2 separate regions of the Homo sapiens genome follow, and region 2 is linked to region 1. Evidence: promoter capture Hi-C in human tissues and cell types (Jung and others, 2019). All regions are on one chromosome and are shown on one strand. Each heading gives the region's core, a stretch centred on a gene start or on the middle of the fragment in contact. The rest is flanking DNA. Distances are from core to core; before and after follow the strand shown. Region 1 holds the start of ANAPC4 (anaphase promoting complex subunit 4). Region 2 has its middle 3.3 kb from the start of MIR573.

The links. The method cuts DNA at HindIII sites, captures the fragments that hold promoters and counts their contacts. A contact is called where the count stands out against the background at its distance.
Region 2: a contact is called between a fragment that was not itself captured here and the fragment with the promoter of ANAPC4 in region 1, in 1 of the 25 tissues and cell types used here (lymphoblastoid cells).

Annotation. Positions count from the first base shown.
Region 1 is chr4:25,375,078-25,379,828 of GRCh38, reverse strand. ANAPC4 (anaphase promoting complex subunit 4) reads right to left here and starts at 2,566. Exons shown (of 29, transcript NM_013367.3): 1 at 2,485-2,566; 2 at 2,273-2,411. The coding sequence starts at 2,401. RefSeq lists enhancers at 2,164-2,233, 2,264-2,323 and a silencer at 2,444-2,863. The HindIII fragment of the contact is 8,136 bases long and covers 1-4,751 here.
Region 2 is chr4:24,514,771-24,519,207 of GRCh38, reverse strand. No RefSeq gene overlaps it. Among named protein-coding and RNA genes, the nearest start is that of MIR573, 3.3 kb to the left of the region's middle. The HindIII fragment of the contact is 5,083 bases long and covers 1-4,437 here.

The sequences.
Region 1 (4,751 bases), core at 1,317-3,816:
ACCACTGCACATGCTCCTCCAAGACCCCTCCCCATTTCCACACTCAGCTAAGCCACCATGACCCTGCCTTATCTCACAGCTCACAGCACCCTTCACTCCTGGTTACAACATCCCCTGGATTTGACCCTCTCTTTTCTGAAACCACTCCTGCCATACCTTACTTCTGAAACCCTTCCTCTGTGCTTTCTGCAGCTCATGGTCAGGTGTCATCATGAAATTAATATCTTCGTACTTTTCTCTGAAATGTGCCTCTCACCTGAGGACAATGCTTCCCTGCAGCCTTGCTAGGTGGTGGCCATTTTGTATCCCACAGCCCCTGTACTGCTGCTTTTGGGCTAGGAGATGAAGTAGGTGTCTTCCTTGATGCTTGATGCCATTTCTTCTCTTCTTGTAAATCTCCTAACTTTGAATCACATGCAATCAGACCATACCACTCGCTATCCGTCTTAATTGCAGTCCTCTACAGACCCCTAGGCCATTCCCCTCATTCCTTAAAGATCTGGATACCTGGCTTGCTCATGCCTTCTAACAACACACTCATCATCATTTTTGGTGATTTCAAGAGCTATGATGTCCTGGCTTTTCAGCTCTCAATTACCTCTCCTCCAGTGATCACATCTTCTACTGCACTCAGCCACTCCCAGGGTCACACCTCCGGCCTGGTCATTACCAACAACTGCAGGGCCACCAAAATCTCCATTTTAAACTTCCCACTTTCCATCCACCACCCCTCTTTCCAGGTCATCTCTACAACACTCAACTCCAATTCTTTGACCTCACCAGGATACAGTCTATTGATTCTACCACCTGTTCACTGTCCCTCTCCCCACACATGCCTTCACTTCCCTCCTTCATCAGGTTAGAACCCAAAGTTCAGAAACACAATCACTCCTCTTGCACGTAACTTCAACTCTCTTTCATCTTTGCCTTGCTTTGTCATACTTGCAAAACGACAATCCTGGTTAAACCCAACCATGCCTGCACCCACACAGCCAAACAGAACGGAGAGAGACACATACAACCTTATTCAACCAGTGTCTCTCAAATAATAACACCGATCTCATGTGGGTCTTAACACTGACTGGCAATCCTATTAGGTTTCCCAAGTCCACCTGCTTTGTTAGCTTTTTCATACCTCTTCTTTCTCCTCAAACTTCCAATATATTCTTCTCCATCTTCACCCATAAACAATGCCCTTGCTTCTTCCTTCACTGAGAAAATGGATGTAACAGTGCCCTCTATCACGCCTACCCATCTGATTGCACGGATGTGCCTCCCGTCTACCTTCCCTCCTACTTCTGTGACGGTACCACCTGCTGCTCTCTAGAGCCACAACAGAGTTTCAAAGCATCCCGGCAGCGGAGGGAGACTAGCTAGATTTCATGGAGGGCCCTGAAAAATTAGACATCAATACCCTGGCGACTGGATCATGGTAGATAACATGGTGCAGACTACAGTCTGCAGGGTGCTAAGATTTCCTTATCACCTAGTTTCCAAATTTGGCTCTATACAACTCTCACATGGCCAGATAACTCTCAAGCCAGAGGCGGAAAGATGCACAGGTGAAGGTTTCCTTACAAAATGGCTGGCAGGTAATAACTCTCAGCAGAAAGTTGGGTACAACTGGTTTATACTCGATGAAGTTTTATGTGAACAAGAAATGCTGATAACACCCATGCACGTTCTGTCTGGAATCCAATGCATGCCTTCCTTGTCCAATTTAGAGGTATTTTTAGTGGAGGGTGGTTATCCAACCCGTACTATAAAACGTGGACAAGAGAAGCCAGGTTCTTAAATATATCCTGTGTGGCAGCTACATGCAGGCACATTTGCAGCTGAAGTTTGACAATAACTCTTCCTACTGCTATTAAAACTGTAAGCAAACTTAGGGCAGGGTCCCTGCATCTACCATTATGTCTAGCTCATGAGCAGCACATAGTGGGCTTTTTTAAAAAGTTCATTTAACTAATAAACCAATGAGTGAAGAAGACTTGGGGAAGCAGGATTGCGTGACGGTGTTAAGCTGTGTGAAAACTGTTACTTTAGCCATAAAAGTACCGAAAATAGCACAGACATCACCTTTCGCATATATACTTAAAGTTTACTGCCGTCCTGGGAGGCAGGGAAGGGGTAGCAGGTGGCCAGCCATGTCTGCAGAAGGGGAAACTGAGGCTCCGGCCGCCTGTGGCCCGAATGAACAGGCTCGGGCTCGGTGTTCTTGGGCCCCCCGGGAGCAGACCCAGCACAGGCGGGCTCCCGCCGGCTCACTCACCTCGCCAGCTGTGTTGGCCAAAGCAATGAGATCCCGCTTGGGCGACCAGACCAGGAAAATAATCTCCTGCGGGAGCTGCTTCTCTCCCACCACCCGGAAGGATGGGAAACAGGTCGGAAAACGCAACATGGGGACGGCCCTGCAACGACACCCCAGTCAGAGGCCGGCAGGAGCCCCCGGCTCTCCACGAGGAGCCCCGACCGCGCCTGTACCTGCAAGAGTCCCCACCGGCAGACTAACACGGCCCCAGTGGCCTCTCCCCTCCCTCTGCCGGCCGCGCGCCACAGCCTCCAGGCCGCCCCGCCCCGCCGCTGTCGCGCGCTCCAGGCACTTCCGGCGTCGGGACTGCCTCGCGAGAGGAGGAGGAGGGGCGGGGCGCGCACCGGTCTTGGGGGTGCTGAGAGCCAGAAGGGGCGGACAGGGACGGGGCGCGGTGGGCGGGGCAGGGAGGAGCGAGGGGCGGATCGAGGTGGGGGTAGGATGGGGCCCGTGGGCGGGGCAGGGAGCAGCGATGGGGCAGAGCTAGGAAGGGTGGGGCACGCGGGCGGGGCAGGGAGCCCCGAGGGGCGCGGAGAGGGAGGGAGCCGCGCGCCGGACCCAGGTGCTGGTGGGATCGCTGGGCGCCGGGACCTGAAAGGGCCCGAGAAGGGCGGGGCAGGCCCCTGCGGCCACACGCAGGTCTTTTGGGAACCCGTGTGTGCACGTGTGTGGGCATGCTTGCATACCTTTCCCGTTTTCCCGGAAATTCTCTGCTGTGGGCAAAGGGACGGTAGGGGTTTATGGGGTAGGCTTCAGCGACAACGGGGAGATGAAAAAGAATATGAACTTTAGGTCCTGATCAGCTGGCGCCTCCTCTAACAGTTACTAAGCGAGTAGTTCTCATGTCAGTCCTGGTGGGTCAGTATAGAATTTTAAAAGTCCCCCTGTCCAAGCAGCACCCCAAACCAATTAGAAGAAAATTAACCCTGGATGGGCCCAGTATTTACTAAAACTCTTTGGGTGATTCCAATTTGGAGAGAAGAGGCGCGTGCCCTAAAACCTCCCTAACAGGCAAATAATACTGTGACATCTCATCCCATTTAACCCTCACAACTTATTGGTAGTTGCAGCACCGTCATAACGAATAAAGAGTGTGGGCTCAGGGCCGGGCGCGGTGGCTCACGCCTGTAATCCCAGCACTTTGGGAGGCCGTGGCGGACGGATCACAAGGACAGGAGATAGAGCCCATCCTGGCTAACATGGTGAAACCCCGTCTCTACTAAAAAATACAAAAAAGTAGCCAGGCATGGTGGCGGGCACCTGTAGTCCCATCTACTGGGGAGGCTGAGGCAGGAGAATGGCGTGAACCCGGGAGGCGGAGCTTGCAGTGAGGCGGAGCTTGCAGTGAGGCGGGGCTTGCAGTGAGGCGGAGCTTGCAGTGAGCCGAGATTGTGCCACTGCACTCCAGCCTGGGCAACAGAGCCAGACTCCGTCTCTAAAATATAAAAAAAGAGTGTGGGCTCACACACGATTTCTTCTATAGGTACTTGGGCATTTACTATGTGGAGGAACTGAGGCTACAGCAATGCATGGGACGGGAACTCTGCCCAGAGGCTCACAGGCCAGCCTGGCAGACTTGTAAATCAGAACTCATCTGATGTTGCTTTATGTAGGACACATTTAAATGAGTCAACCTGTTGACAGTTCCCACAGCTATGACCTCCCTAAGAGAATGTGACAGTACCATCCTAGGGTTCTTAAACTTAAAACCTATGGTAGAAAGCCATCTACTTTTTACTACCTTTCACTTGTTCAAAGAAGAAACAGACGGCAGGTCCTTTAACTTTCAACAGGCCCCATCTTCTTGACCTCTGTCTGGATCTAGCCCCTGGGAAGTAGATGACGGAGGGAGACTAATTCATTCAGCATCAAGTAACTATTTTGTGCCAAGTACTGTTCTTAATCCTTGACTTTATACCTACCCTGCTTCCTGTCACGGGCTTTGCAGCCCTTGCCTTTGCCACAAACAACTTACCAAGTGCCCCCAACTCTTCCAGAATCAACATTTCTAAGGTAAAAATGCATTTGCCTTTGTTTTTCACAAAATGCATTTTCAGGTGTTAGTGTTTTGGGGCAGTTATAATGGATCACCTGGTGGGGGTCTAGTATCTATGCACATTAACCTTCTTACGGAAATTGAATGTCCATTTTCCTGGAACTTACCTGAATACAAACACCCATACAGCACGTGAAAATCACTGTTCCCAGAGGCATAAACACCGTACTGCAAAGGACAGAGTATAACCACCTGCACATTAAGTCTTCACAGAATATAAATTTTCTAAGCCTTACAGCAAAGGAAACAGCCTAAGTGTGGAGTTCCAGATGTGGGCAGGAAACAGCAGAGTTTTATGCTGCTATAGACCAGGGGTGTCCAATCTTTTGTCTTCCCACATTAGAATCGTCTTGGGCTACACATTAAATACATTAACAGTAATGA
Region 2 (4,437 bases), core at 1,173-3,672, 860 kb after region 1:
ATATCATTCTTTCAGCAAATACTTTTATTTATTTATTTATTTGAGGCAGAATCTCGCTCTGTTGCTCAGGCTGGAGTGCAGTGGCACGATCTGGCTCACTGCAACCTCTGCCTCCCAGGTACAAGTGTTTCTCCTGTCTCAGCCTCCCGAGTAGCTGGGATTACAGGCGCCCACCATCACATCCGGCTAATTTTTGTATTTTTAGTGGAGATGGGGTTTCGCCATGTTGGCCAGGCTTGTCTTGAACTCCTGACCTCAAGTGATCCACCCACCTCGGCCTCCCAAAGTGCTGGGATTACAGGCGTGAGCCACCGCGCCCGGCCAAGCTTCTTTCTTTATATGGACTTTGAAACATTTACTGTGACTCTTGGGATTTCTAGTTGAAGTCACCTGCAAAGGGATTCCCCCTGTAAATGTCCATATTGCATATTGCTGTGAATATGACTGGAGGTTGTAACTTACCTGAATGTTTCCCTTTCCTGATTACATGCCAGGTAATACTGAAAGGGAAATGTCCAGAAAGGTTGTATTGGATGCTTTCAGAAGAATCACAACCTTTTCATGAATAAACCTCCTTTATTTATGAATGGACATTGTGCGGTCTGTGACAATGTTTATAAGTGCTGTAATCTGCTAAAATCAGTATCTGATTACAAATAAATGACCAAAGTATTTGTCTACAAGGGAAACTCCAGGACATTATGTACTTTCTAAGGATCCTGTTTCAGTTTCCAGGGGAAGATTTTGAACTATTTGGCATGTAACAGTTATTTTTCTCCTCTAACATCTTTTTTCCCCAGTCTCATAAGGAAGAGAGAAAAGTCAGAAAATAATATTTAAATTGTGTAACTAGCTTATTATTTTCATACTAAAAAGTAATCACTGATAGTTTTTCTATAGGTATGAGATCAAGGGAATCATTTTTAGAAATCATTTTCATTGTAAAAAGTATATTAGATGTCTTTTGCCAAATTTTATCTAGTTAGTAATTATAAACAGTATCAGTCTTATTTTCCTATTGTTTATGAACAATATAAAGACCTCTTAATAGTGATCTAAAAGTTTTCTATTGTCACTGGGTTACCTTCAGAATTTCTAGGCCTGTTAGATTTATTTTTGTCGTTAGCATTTAAAGTTTTGCTCTGTATTAGAAAATAGAAAACTTAGAAAAACAGGTAGTGGCAGTTCATCACTTCCCCCACTTTTATTTCCAAGTCATTATCTAGTTTCTCAATGTGGCATTGCAACTCTGATTTTTTACTGTTCGTGCACTAAAGCATTTGAGATAAGCCCTTAGTGTTGAGGAAATCCTAAATCCTACTGCTGGGGGGTTAAAAGAAATATAGTGACAGGCTATGAAATAGTGTTGTCATAACTTATCAGTGGCTAGTAAATAGGGTAGTTGCCTTCTGACACCATTTTGAGTGAAGGCAGTTTAATTGCGTTGCCTCTGTTTAGATAAGCATTTGGAATCCACAGTCAAATGTGTGAATGCTGTGGTTAAAGTATTTCCATTATATGAGATTTGATTTCTTAAGTGATTTTTTTGTCTCAGGTTCCATTCTACATCAAAAGGTATTTGGAAAATGTCTTTCACTGTATGTGTACATGGAGAACCATAACCTATAATTGTATGTAAATCTAGTGATTGTGAAAAACAAGAAACTTGCAGACACATATTAACAGTTGGTGACTTATCGCCAGTTGGTGACTTACTTACCTACCCCTGCCTCTCAAATCTTGTTATAACAATTAAACAGTTCGTATTAAGACTTTGTAATTTTTTAGTTGTGTTATTTTTACTTGAAGAAGACTCTTTCCCTATTGAATTAAGATTCCAGTTTCTGGGCATAACACATCCATGCTTTCAACCTCATATGCTTCTTGCAGCATAAACAATACACACTTAAACTCCTAAGCATTTACCAGGATACTTATAGAAGAAGGTTGCAGCTACTTGAGCTAATTTTTGCATGCTTTGTCAATTCACATTTTCTACTAGGTTGAAAATCCACTTTGGTTTGCAGTGGTGATGGGTTTTATCCTCTGATGATTCAACCTTTTTGATTTTTGAAAGAAAGGAGTTTTAACCTTAGCAGTCATGTAGCACTTTAAATTCAAAACAAGAATCTGACTCTGACTCTTGAAATGATACTGTGTGTTTTGTTTTTGTGGAATGGGAGGGCCAAATGGGTAGTTAGTTTCTTTTGCAATTGGAATAACTGTCATAAAATCAGGAAGTGCTGGAAGAGACCCCAGAAGTAATTGATTTCAAATCCTCATACTCAAAGAAAACCAAGACCCAAAGATAACCAAGTTCTGTTCAAGGTCATTCAGTTTGTTATTTTGTCTCATCCTAAGCGAGAGCATTTCCTCTCTATGGAGTATATCCTGTACCTGTGTTTTGTTTTGTTTTGTTTGTTTGTTTGAGACAGAGTCTCGCTCTGTCCACCAGGCTAGAGTGCAGTGGCAAGATCTCGGCTCACTGCAACCTCCGCCTCCCAGGTTCGAGTAATTCTGCCTCAGCCTCCCCAGTAGCTGGCACTACGGGCATGCACATCCATGCCTGGCTGACTTTTGTATTTTTAGTAGAGACAGGGTTTCACCACGTTGGCCAGGCTGGTCTCGAACTCCTGACCTCAGGTGATCCACCTGCCTCAGCCTCCCACAGTGCTGGGATTACAGGCGTGAGCCACCGCGCCCGGCTGTACCTGTGGTATTTTATAATCCTATTTGGTTTCTTGCTTTCCCCAAATAAAAACCGTTTTTGAACTCTGCCAGTGGCATTAAGGAAAGGATATAAAACTTGATAGTTATCAAAAGAACATTTCCCCCCATTATTTTAGTGATATAACTATGGAGGAAATTTTAAGCGTTTTGCTAATTTTAAACTTTTTTTTCTCATTTCATTAGCATTTGATAAGGCTATGAAATCCTGGTCCTTTATAACTAAAGATGTTTATTTTTCATTAAATAGGCAGATAATGCATAACCATATCTTGACTTTCTTAAGGAAAAATCTTGATCTCTGGGAGAAAAACATATTTCCACTTTTGATTTGCCCCTTCCATGCTTTTGTACACTTAGCACTTAATATGCACGAGGTTTATCGGCTCTTCACAATACCACAACCAAGGCAAACGGGGTACCATAAGGTTATGTAACCTGCCCAAGGTTTAGGACTAGTGAGAACGGTGAACCCCAGGCAGAGGGATGGGAAAGGTCCACAGAGCCCATTAACTTAATCTGTAGAGCTGGTTATTTTCCTCGGTATACCTTACACCACCTGCAGCCAGTGCAGAGAACTTCATTGTCCTATGCCTGTGTCCCTTTAAAGGCCCAGACTTTATGTAGAAATCTCAGTTCTACAGCACTTGACTCATTCCTCCTCTTCCTGTCTCCAATGCATACCCAGTCACATCACTCTTACTGTTTGAATTTTTCCAGTCCCTTCTTCCCATCCCAGAATAAACTCAGCTGTGTATTTAAAAATACGTATTTATGCCAGGCGCGGTGGCTCACGCCTGTAATCCCAGCACTTTGGGAGGCCGAGGCAGGCGGATCACGAGGTCAGGAGATCGAGACCATCCTGGCAAACACGGTGAAACCCCGTCTCTACTAAAAATACAAAAAAAAAAAAAAATTAGCCGGGCGCGGTGGCCGGCGCCTGTAGTCTCAGCTACTCGCGAGGCTGAGGCAGGAGAATGGCGTGAACCCGGGAGGCGGAGCTTGCAGTGAGCCGAGATCGTGCCACTGCACTCCAGCCTGGGCGACAGAGCGAGACTCCGTCTCAAAAAAAAAAAAAAAAAAAAAAAAAAAGTATTTATTCCCTAAGCATATTCATTATATGCATTTCTAGGTATTTTGTTGCAGGGACGCTTTCAGATTATCTGTCTTCAGAATTGCTAGATACAGAAGTTGACCACTCCCTTTTAATCTTTAAATCAAGGACAGGATTGAGGTCAATATCGCTGTGTGCTGTCTAATGAATTATTTGTACAGATTTAGAAAAGATAAATATTTATTGGTGTAGTCAGATGAGTGAAAGTTTAGTAAGCTTCTTCAGACATATTGACAGACTTAAGCCAGCTGATTTTCTGTCCTTTAGCAAATCTCACCTGCATTCTCTGGCATAATTAAGTGGGGTTGATAAACCATCTCTATTTTCTTTCCCCCGAAGCCTGACACCCAGTGGTCAGACTTTGAAACCAAAACCTCCCTGAGGGGGTTAACAAAAGTGAGGACTATTTGCTACCCTCCTGCTTCACACTTTTCATCTTCATTGTGGAATAGGTAGGTGAAATACTGAGCTGGATGGGGAGAGCCACATCTAAGCTATTCCCTTACAGGAGACTTGCCTTAAAGAAATGGGAATTTTGAGCCACTTCCTTGCTCAGTGTCCTTGTTGACTGCTGAAACTTTGTTCATTTCTTCATC